Regions from separate parts of the Homo sapiens genome. Here all the other regions are linked to region 3. The links are contacts of gene promoters, found by promoter capture Hi-C in blood cells and fetal thymus (Javierre and others, 2016). All regions are on one chromosome and are shown on one strand. Each heading gives the region's core, a stretch centred on a gene start or on the middle of the fragment in contact. The rest is flanking DNA. Distances are from core to core; before and after follow the strand shown.

Region 1 (2,700 bases), core at 19-2,518, 160 kb before region 3:
TCCTGTTAAGATGTTTATCAATGACAATGCGTGCACAGTGGGACATGAAACCTCATCAGCAATTCTAATTTTGCCCTGGACTTTGATCTCGCTCTGCCCCCATTTGCCTTGTGATATTTTATTGCCTTTGAAGCATGTGATCTCTGTGACCCACAACCTATTCGTACACTCCCTCCCCTTTGAAAATTGCTAATAAAAGCTTGCTGGTTTTGCGGCTCGGGAGCAACACAGAACCTGCTGACGTGATGTCACCCCCAGAGACCCAGCTGTAAAATTTCTCTCTTTTGTACTCTTTCTCAGACCGGCCGATGCTTAGGGAAAAGAGAAAAGAACCTACATTGAAATATTGGGGGCTGGTTCCTCCGATACTGTGGGAAATTGAATAGATGCTATTTTGGAGAATTTCAACATCTTTTCAATTTTCTCCTCCCAGCTCCCTCCTTGGTGGAAAGCAGCTTGGGTCCTGGAGGTGGACGGAGGAGGAGGGAGAGCTAGGAGATGCCCCACTTTCCTCTTGGGCACAGCACCTGAACCCGTGGTCTCGGCGCCTGGGTGGGAGCCTGCCCCAGCCGCCACTGATTCCTTCATTTGGTACGGACTGAATGGGGAGAAGGTGCGGTGTGGCCAGGCAGAACTGTCATTCGCCTTGCTGCTTTGGGCCTCAGGCACCTCACCTATAAAGTGGGGGATGGCCATCTTCCCATTGCACTGGGTGGCTGGGGAGTCCCAGGGGAAGAAGCCTGTCAAGTGCTTGGCTGCTCAGTGAGCCCTAAAAATAATGCGAATGATCAGCCCTCCCCAGCCGTTGGTGTATTGAGGCCTCATGCCCAGCAGGAGCACAGATCATGGATACCTTCTTCCCTCAAGCTGGCCAGGAGCCTTGAAGAGTGGTGCCTTAGCAAAATATTAAAGGCTGGCTAGAAATCTCCAAGGAAACCCTGATCCCTCCTGCATGGATGGTCCTGAGGGCAGCTGGAGGGAGGCCCACAGCCTGTTTATTTCAGAGAGGCCCAAAGCAGAGGACTTTGAGATGCTGTAATTTTTGTGTTGAGGATGCTGTGACTCAGTTACCAGAAAAAACTGGACACAGTCAATACATTCAATGCAAAATAAAACTGATTCAGGCTAACATTCAGAAAACCGAACCTGGTAAAAATAATGGTCATTAAAAGAAAAGGGGGCCCAGGCAGCGTGGCTCACGCCTGTAATCCCAGCACTTTGGAAGGCCGAGGCGGGCAGATTGCTTGGTCCCAGAAGTTTAAGACCAGCCTGTGCAACATGGCGAAACCTCATCTCTACAAAAAATAGCAAAATTAGCCGGGTGCGGTAGTGCGCACCTATAATCCCAGCTACTCGGGAGGCTGAGGGGGGTGGATCACCTGAGCCCAGGAGGTCAAGGCTATGGTGAGCCATGATCATGCCACTGCACTCCAGCCTGGATGACAGAGTGAGACCCTGTTTCAAAATTTAAAAAAAAAAAAAAAAAAAAAGGGGGAAATAAAAACAATGAGAAAATGGTTGAGTTTGGCTGTATAGAAAATTGGGGAAATTAAATGGCTAATCCAGGTTTGTTCTGGAAAAGTCCATGACAAAAACGCATCACTTAATTTTTATTAAAATGCTCTATACTCACAATGTCAAAATATCCTTGGGGCCAAACCTTCCCATCAACTGTGAAGCCGGGAACCACACAGGGTTTGAGAAAAAGCAGGGCCACACATGGTTCTCCCTTGCTGGCCTCTCCCTGGAGTTCTGCCCACGTGTCTGTGTCTCCCACAGAACCTGCCTGTTCACCTCCCACCATTCACCTCCCACAGCTCCTTCTGCTTCTGAAGGAAACCCAGGGCCCCGGGGTCTGTATAGAGAACCAGTCACTATCTCAGTCATACCACCGTGTGCAGAAAGCCACGCAGAGGCCTGTGGCTCTTGGTTCTTCATTAGGAGTCTCATGAGAAGTTTCACTAGCTATTGACGTCAACACAACTTATAGGCAGATAAAATGCACCTCTTTTTGGGTACGATTCTCCCTTTACCATCTGCTGGAGGAGAGAAGGGTGGGTTCTTCTGACTTCATGGAATGACTCCTGTAATCACCAATGCAACGGCTGCAATGTTCTTACCCAAGCATGAGCAGAAGGTAGAAAAGATAAAAACACAGAGGAGAGAAGAGGCAGACCAGCTTTATTTTTGAACCCAATCACTGGGTGCCCAACTATGACTCTGCTATCTTCGAAATGATGAGATGGGGCACACTCCCCTAACAGTATTTAGCTAGACCAACAAGGATCCTGGCTCCTCCCAGGGCTGTAGCAGAGGGACGAGGCCCTTCGAAGCTTCTAGTGGGCACAGTGTATTTGAAATCCATCCTTTTTAAAGCCCAGTTTCACTTGGCCTACTTGATTTATTGCTGGTAGCAAGATCATTAGAATTTTAGTTAATTAATATGTGCCAACTCTGCACCGGTGAGGACTCTGGAGTCTCTTGTTACTGCAAGCATAAAAAGTGCAGCCCACAGGGCTTCCTGGCCATGGAAAGGACCAAATGCACCTGCAGGTGGAAGCAAGCATGACCTCGGGCCACTGTGCAGCCCCTCCCATGTCCCCCCTGGAACCGACACGCCTCACATCAAGAGTGGCCACACCAGCTTGAAGGCTGGCCAGGACAGCTTTATGACACAGAACTATAGAGAGAACACACAGC
Region 2 (2,700 bases), core at 104-2,603, 140 kb before region 3:
ACTGTTTGTGATCTAGTAATACACAAGGAAAATAGGACACTGGAATGTTAAAAATAGGTCTGTTCCAGACAAAGAACTTGCATACCTACTCCATACATAATACACAGGGTAACAGCCACTCTTTCTACAGCCTTTACAAGAAGTATCTTAAACATCTTTCTATGGAGGAAAAAATGGTTCAAAAACTCAGTAAGAACACTTTTTTATGAGAGGCATATTCCCCGCACTTACAAAATAGCACCTACATTTACTGGAAATTAATTTAGTGACAGAAAATCTCATGTTTAGTAACTAAACCTTCATTATTTTTTCATTAAAATAGCTGACTTCACAATATAGAAATAAAACAGCCACAACAAAAACTAAGAATTGCTAGGAAATGTTTGCAAAACTGAAAATAATGTTCACCATTATCTTAAAAGGAAAAAAAAAAAGTCAGGCCATGAAAAGTTTATTCCTCCAGGAATTTTCATATTACCCACTAGATGTTATGTTCAAGTGACAGCAACAGCAGTGAGATCTCCAAAGGCTACATTTACAATAGAGGGCCTGACTGCCTTAAAAAGCTTGTGCTGATACATTGTGTGTATTGAAACATTACTCTGTGATCCATAAACATATATAATTATTATGTATCAATTTTTAAAAGATTTTTTTTAAAAAAAAAAGCTTGTGTGGCAAAACCTTGTCTCTACAAAAAATCAGCCAGATGCCTGTAGTCCCAGCTGCTGGGGAGGCTGAAGTGGGAGGATCACCAAATCCCAGGAGGTTGAGGCAGCAGTGAGCCATGATCACACCACTGCACTCCAGCCTGAGTGATAAGAGTGAGGCCTTGTCTCAAAAAAAAGTTTATGTTGAAACAATGACAAACTAAACTGCTGGGGACCTTGGTTCCCACTCAGCAGGGCAGTCCAGCAGGCATCCATTCTGAAGTTTCACAGTGAATCTAAGCCAGAGGGAAGATTTAACTGGGCCACAGTGAAAGCTGGTGCTGATGGAACCAAGGTAGAAGGCCACAGCAGGTTAACACTGAACTGGCCATGTCCCTGTCTCTATACAGGGGAGGGAAAAACTCTTAGCCTGGGTATTTTCCCAAAGGACAATGGCTACCCTTGGGGCCTCTCTTCATTTAATTATTATAAACTACTGAAAATACCCAATCTCCTGGGCTCGGCGCACAGCCAAATTTACATGGGGTATCATTTGGCAGTGATGAGGGGCTAACTCACTTCTGTGACAGGAGGAACAGAACGCTTTCACAAGTTATCTTAAAAACAACAAACTAGCTGGGCGAGGTGGCTCACGCCTGTAATCCCAACACTTTGGGAGGCTGAGGCAGGTGGATCACCTGAGGTCAGGAGTTCGAGACCAGGCTGACCAACATGGTGAAACCCCATCTCTACCAAAAATACAAAATTAGCTGAGTGTGGTGGTGCATGCCTGTAATCCCAGCTACTTGGGAGGCTGAGGCCAGAGAATCGCTCGAACCCAGGAGGTGGAGGTTGCAGTGAGCCAAGATCACGCCATTGCACTCCAGCCTTGACAACAAGAGCGAAACTCCTCCTAAAAAAAAAACAACAGAAAACCAAAAAAACAAATAGGCCGGGCGCAGTGGTTCACACCTAAAAATTCCCAGCACTTTGAGAGGCCAAGGAGGGTGGATCACATGAGGTCAGGAGTTCAAGACCAGCCTGGCCAACATGGTGAAATCCCATCTCTACTAAAAATACAGAAATTAGCTAGCGTGGTGGCACATGCCTGTAATCCCAGCTACTCAGGAGGCTGAGGCAGGAGAATCGCTTCAACCGGGGAGGCAGAGGTTGCAGTGAGCTGAGACTGCGCCACTTCACTCCAGCCTGGGTGACAGAGTGAGACCCTGTCTCAAAAAACAAAATAAAAGGACAACAGAAAAAAAAAAACAAAACCCAAACCCTTCTTCCTATACTAAAGTCATAATACAGGGGAAGATATGACAAACTATGGTATCTGGTTTATCTTTAATCAAAATTCTTATAGGAGAAGTAGTAAAAAGCTTTACTTTCATTTCAAGAACATTTTTCTTTCCTATTCAATTTCTATGGTCAGGTTTAATTTAATTTAGAAATCTCATATAAAATGTATAAATTATGATGGTTTCATGTTTATAAACATAAGTATTGCCAGGCGTGGTGGCTCACGCCTGTAATCCCAGCACTTTGGGAGGCCTAGGCGGGTGGATCACGAGGTCAGGAGTTTGAGACCAGCCTGGCCATTATGGTGAAACCCTGTCTCTACTAAAAAAATACAAAAATTAGCCGGGCATGGTGGCATGCACCTGGGAGGCTGAGGCAGGAGAATCGCTTGAACCCGGGAGGCGGAGATTGTGGTGAGCCGAGATCGCACCATTGCACTCCAGCCTGAGTTACAGAGCAAGACTCCGTCTCAAAAAAAAAAAAAAAAAAAAGATAAGTATTACATAATTTATAAGAATGTCTTTAAATTAGGCTGTAAGGTTCCATGTTTGGGGCAGAAACCATTTACTGAACCAGTGGAACACACTGCGGCCTGACATACCTCGGCAGTGGCTGCTATTTATTTTGGAAGCATGATGGGTAGAAATAAACTGTACGATGAAAATAAATACAACATCTTTAAAATCCACAGTCAATGTTAACAGTTTTTGTTGGCTCAGAGTTTAAGAACACAAGGATAACTAAAAAT
Region 3 (2,700 bases), core at 121-2,620:
GGCCCAGTGGAGGCATCCGAGACCTCACAGGTCGTTAGAGAGGGCTTCCCGGAGGAAGGAACAGCTGGGCTGGGCCCTGAAGAATCATCAGGAGGCGGCACGGTGTGTGCAGAAGGTGCCACTCTGGAGAGGATCCCCAAGACCTGTGTGCCACCTGTCGGACTGGAGAAGGCAAGGAAGGAAGTTGATCTGGGCAGGAGGCATGATGAAAGCCTGGGTCCAATCCCCATCCGCTCCTTACTGAAAAGCTAGGAAACGGTCAGGAGATGTTCGCTGGGCCGGCGGCACTCCGCTGAGGCCTGCACCAGCTCATGGAGTTGTCTCCCAAACTCTTGCTGGGAAGGTGCTATTTTTGGCCCTCTAAAGGTCAGAAAACAAGCTCAAAAGCCTTCAGGACTCGGTCTGAGGTCACCGGGCGATGAATGGAGGGGCCCTGTCTGCACCCAGGCAAACAAAGAGGCTCCAGACTGCCAGGCCGGATGCGCTCCGGGCTGGACGCCGGCTCCGCGTGTCTGGGCTTGCCATTCCTGGACCGCCAGACTTCATTTACTACTATTTTTATTTAAAAAGACTCACTTGGAAGAAAGTGATAGATTTCTTGAAAGGAAAGCTGGTATGACTGCTCTGAAGGAAAACCAGTTTTCACTTAGCACCAATGGAAAGTGACGGAAATGAAACATAACAAACAGCACTGTGGGTTTCTTGCCCGCGGCTTCCCTGAGGACGCCTGCTCTTCCACTCAGAAGAAAAGGGAGGAGCAGCGAGCGTCGGGAGGTGTTCAAAACACAGCGAGACCCAGCCAGAAGGCCTGGACAACAACTCCGCAGGCAACGTGTGGAAGTTCAGACCAAGTCAGTCGGCTGCGCCCCAGCCTGGCTGAGGCTCTGCAGACCCGGGGCTCGGCCGAAGACTGCGCGACCTTGGGCAGAGCGCCACACCTTCCCGAGCCTCAGTTTCTCTGGCTGTCAACTAGGAGGATCGCTTCCTTGGCTTGCAGGGATTTGGGGTTTCGGGGACCCTGGAAGAGCTCGGTCCCGGGCAGCTACAAGTGCAAAGGCGTCCTTGGCGGAGGCGGCCGGACCCCGGCGCGGCCCTGCGGACGTCTGGGGACCTGGACACCGCCCGGGATCAGGGTCGGGGTGGGGTGCTTACCTGGTGGCCGCGGCAGTCCCCGCGCGCCGTGCGGAGCAGCCGGGCGTCTAGCCTGGGCGGGAGCAGGGCCAGGGCCAGGGGCGGCGGGGCGCAGGGGGCGGTGGCGCCCAGGAGCCAGGTGGCGCGAGGCCGGACCCGGGCGCCCACCCTGCCTGCCGGACCCAGCAACGCCAGCAACCCGGCCATGGTGCGCAGCTAGGCGCAGCACCCGCGCCGCTGACCCGGGAGGCGGGCGGAGGCCGGGGAGGGTGGGCGGAGCTGACCCGGCGAGGGCCCTCCCCGGCCCCGCCCGCCGGCTTCGCCGCCGCGCGCGCGCGCTGGGCGGGACTGAGGAGGCCTGTGCACATCCCCTTGGCTCACCCGCTAGCTCCGCTCCTCGGGAGCCGGAGTCCAGGGCTGGTGGGCGGGGCTGAAGGAGCGCGCCCCGCCTCCTCTCCGCCCACCAGCCCCGCCCCTTTGGGGGTGGGTGCAGGTCTTTTCAGGGTCTTGGGCTTTCTAACTGTGGTGTGTAGTTGGCGGGTTTCCTTATTCTGCGGGCACAAAGGTGGGCGTAGGGCCGTGGCTTATGAGCTTTTCTCCCTGCAGAAATGGGTGAAATCTGAAAAAAAATTATAGATATGTTTACGTGTTAGCTCCAAAGAAGAAAATAAATATGAGAATTGATATTAGTACATGTTTAATAAAAAGTCCTCTGACCCTCATAGATTGTTGGCGTGAATGTAAAGCGAAAGATGGTGTGGCAGTTTCTTGAAAAGTTAGACATACACTAACCATACAACCCAGCAACTCCACTCCTCGGTAGCTTCTCAAGAGAAACAAAGGCTCGACACTCAAAGACTAAAATGTGAAGACACCAATGTTTGTAGAGATCTTATAAATATTAGTCAACAATTAGGAATGCCCATAAACTGGGACGTACTGTGGCACAAGTCTTCAATGGGACGCAATGCAACAATTAAAGGGAACAGACTACTGATACATGCACAACATAAATGAATCTCAAAGCTCTTATGCCAATTGAAAAAATCTAGGCACAAAAGTCACACACTGGAGGATTCCAGCTACATGAAGTGCCCAGAATAGGCAAAATCACAGAGACCTAAAACAGATCCGTGGTGGCCTAGGGCTGGGAGTGGGAAATGAGATTGACTGCCAAGGAGTGGGAGGAACGTCTTGGGGTGAGGGAAGGATCCTAAACCCAGATTGTAGGGATGGTGACAGCTGTGTAACTAAAACTCGTGGGACTGTACACTTAACATGGATGAATTTTATGCTGTGTAAATTATACTTCAATAAAGATGTTCTGGCTGGGTGGAATGGCTCATGCCTATAATCCAAGCACGTTGGGAGGCTGAGGTGGGAGGATTACTTGAGCTCAGGAGTTCAAGACCAGCCTGAGCAACATAGCGAAACCCTGTCACTACAAAAATAAAAATAAATTAGCCTGGTGTGGTGGCATGCACCTGTAGTCCCAACTACTCGGGAGGCTGACGCAGAATTGCTTGAGCTCAGGAGGTCCAGGTTTCAGGGAGCCACGATGGTGCTACT
Region 4 (2,700 bases), core at 67-2,566, 180 kb before region 3:
GACTTACCTAAGACGCAACCACAGGAGGAAACTGGGTGAAGAGCACACGGGACCTCTCAGTGCCACCTTTGCAACTTCCTGTGAACCTACTATTATTTCAAAAGAAAAAGTTAAGAAAAATTACTGTGGGCCAAACAAACATGGTATGGGCAGGGGAGGTTTGGTGTCTGAGCCAATAGTTCATAGCCTCTGCTTTCAAGGGACTGGGTGTTCTCATTCTTGATCCATGGCTGCTGTTTCTTTGGTCTCATTTCCCTGGTTCAGAGACCCAGTGACTAGGTCAAAGGGCAAGGTGGACGTGTCAGCTGTGGTATCAGAAGTGGCAGATGGAAACATTTTGTGTGTTTGTGTGTGTATGCATGATGTATTCAATTGCTGTGTAAAAACTTGGCCATAAGTGTAGTGGCTTACAACAACGCCCACTTATCACACAGTTTTTGTGGGTCAGGAGTACACGTAAGGCTGGCGGGGTCTCTGCTTAGGGTCCCACCAGGCAGAAATCAGGTGTCGGTCATGGCTGCTCTATCATCTGAGGCTTAGGCTCCCTCTTCCAAGCCACTGGTTGTTGGTGGAATGCATTTCTACAGCTATAGCACTGGAGGCCACGCTTTCTTCCCAGCTGTTGTCTAGGCTTTCTTTCGGGTCCTAGCGGCCACCCTCATGTCCCTACCATGGAACCCCCGTGGTCTCACAATACCGCAGCCTCCATCTTCAGGCTGCCAGGGAAGTCTCGTGGCTACTATGGGGTCTTACGTAAGACAATGTCATCGTCTTCACAGCTCCCACCACACTCAAGGGAAAGATTACAAAAGGTGAGTGCCAGCCGGGGGCAAGTGGCTCACGCCTGTAATCCCAGCACTTTGGGAGGCCGAGGCAGGCGGATCATCTGAGGTCGGGAGTTTCAGACCAGCCTGACCAACATGGAGAAACCCCGTCTCTACTAAAAATACAAAATTAGCCGGGTGTGGTGGCGCATGCCTGTAATCCCAGCTATTCCGGGGTCTGAGGCAGGAGAATCGCTTGAACCCGGGAGGAGGAGGTTGCGGTGAGCCAAGATTGTGCCATTGCACCCTAGCCTGGGTGACAAGACAAAACTCCATCTCAAAAACAAAAACAAGCAAACAAAAAACCCCCCAAAAACCAAAAGGTGAGTGCCTCTCGGGACCATCTTAGAATTCAGCCCACCACCCGCATCGAGGTTCATGAACAAGGCCCTGTCCAGTGACCATGTCCCCTCCTGTCTAATGCTCAATTTTTTGTTAGCAGCAGCACGACGCCTCCATCACCTCATGCTGGAGCAGCGTCTTTGCAGCTGGGTCCCATTCCTGGTATTCAAACCGTGAGTGACCTGTTTCCACCCAGTAGAGCATGGCAGAGCTGATGTCCATGGCTCCCATGATGACATCACATTGTGAGGCCCCTGTTGTATGAGTGACTCACTCTAGAATCTTACTCTCCTTATTGGCTCTGAAGATGCGAAATGCCACGAGTCCTACAGCTGCAAGGGAATGCATTCTGCAGACAGTCTGAGCTGTCAGCCTGCTCTGATAAACACTTTATTAGGATTTAGGCAACTACAGTGATCAGCAGTTATCATTTATGCATCAGCTTCTCTTTTTATTTTTCATTTTCTTTTTTAAATTTTTAAATTTTTATTTTTTTTTGAGATGGAGTCTCACTCTGTTGCTCAGGTTGGAGGACAGTGACATCGTCTCGGCTCACTGCAACCTCCACCTCCCTGGTCAAGCGATTCTCCTGGCTTAGCCTCCCGAGTAGCTGGGACTACAGATGCACACCACCATGCTCAGCTAATTTTTGGATTTTTAGTAGAGACGGGGTTTCATCATGTTGGCCAGGCTGGTCTTGAACTCCTGACCTCAGGTGATCCACCCACCTCCGCTTCCCAAAGTGTTGGGATTACAGGCATGAGCCACCACACCTGGTCTTATTTTTTTTTTGAGACAGGGTCTCACTCTGTCACCCAGCCTGGACTGCAGTGGTGGTATCACGGCTCACTGCAGCCTCGACTTCCCGGGCTCAAGTGATCCTCCCACCTCAGCCTCCCTAGTAGCTGAGACTGCAGGCATGCACCCCCATGCTCGACCAGTTTTTTTTTGTTTGCTTGTTTTTGTTTTGTTTTTTCTTTTCTTTTCTTTTTTAAGACTTTTTCTCCAAAGGCTCCATTATCCAGACTATTCTGCGTATTTTTTATAGAGTTAGGGTATCACCATGTTGCCCAGGAGTGTCTTGAACTCCTAGACTCAAGGGATACTCCTGCCTTGGTCTCCCAAAGTGCTGGGATTACAGGCATGAGACACCACGCCAGGCCTCAATTTCTCTTTTTAAACCACAGGGTGTGGTAACAGAATTTGAGTTTATGCTATGACAGTAGAGTTGAGTAACTTTAAGATATGGCTCCAAAAATACATCTAATGCATTTTAGCATGAAAATACTGCATGAAATTGACTGGATTGAGAAAACACTATTTTCTAGGCAAAACTGTGGTCTGCACAGTGTGTATTAAGCTAGGCCAAAGACATGGAGGATACCATTTTTGAGGAATTGTTAAATCCAAATGTACAGCAGATTTTGTTCTAATTTACATCCTTGGTGCACTTGCTCTAAGGAGTTTTGACAATTTCCCCTTTCGGAGGATCCCCATCTTTAGTTGCTAGTGCCCTGGATGGAGCTATACACAA

Evidence for each region. The method cuts DNA at HindIII sites, captures the fragments that hold promoters and counts their contacts. A CHiCAGO score of 5 or more calls a contact.
Region 1: a fragment that was not itself captured here is called in contact with the fragment with the promoter of FAM210B in region 3 in 7 of 17 cell types (neutrophils, naive CD8 T cells, non-activated CD4 T cells and 4 more); the score reaches 8.6 in neutrophils.
Region 2: a fragment that was not itself captured here is called in contact with the fragment with the promoter of FAM210B in region 3 in 9 of 17 cell types (monocytes, neutrophils, activated CD4 T cells and 6 more); the score reaches 8.6 in monocytes.
Region 4: a contact is called between a fragment that was not itself captured here and the fragment with the promoter of FAM210B in region 3, in 1 of 17 cell types (neutrophils). The highest score is 6.1, in neutrophils.

Annotation. Positions count from the first base shown.
Region 1 is chr20:56,518,347-56,521,046 of GRCh38, reverse strand. It overlaps RTF2 (replication termination factor 2), which reads right to left. Exons shown (of 9, transcript NM_016407.5): 9 at 1,598-2,700. It also overlaps the pseudogene GCNT7. Among named protein-coding and RNA genes, the nearest start is that of FAM209A, 5.0 kb to the left of the region's middle. The HindIII fragment of the contact is 2,134 bases long and covers 202-2,335 here.
Region 2 is chr20:56,498,938-56,501,637 of GRCh38, reverse strand. The region is part of intron 5 of RTF2 (replication termination factor 2); the gene reads right to left. It also overlaps the pseudogene GCNT7. Among named protein-coding and RNA genes, the nearest start is that of FAM209A, 24 kb to the left of the region's middle. RefSeq lists a silencer at 718-918. The HindIII fragment of the contact is 1,363 bases long and covers 672-2,034 here.
Region 3 is chr20:56,357,644-56,360,343 of GRCh38, reverse strand. FAM210B (family with sequence similarity 210 member B) reads right to left here and starts at 1,370. Exons shown (of 3, transcript NM_080821.3): 1 at 1,153-1,370. The coding sequence starts at 1,338. RefSeq lists a silencer at 1,094-1,693. The HindIII fragment of the contact is 7,749 bases long and covers 1-2,700 here.
Region 4 is chr20:56,539,331-56,542,030 of GRCh38, reverse strand. No RefSeq gene overlaps it. Among named protein-coding and RNA genes, the nearest start is that of FAM209B, 7.4 kb to the right of the region's middle. The HindIII fragment of the contact is 4,088 bases long and covers 1-2,700 here.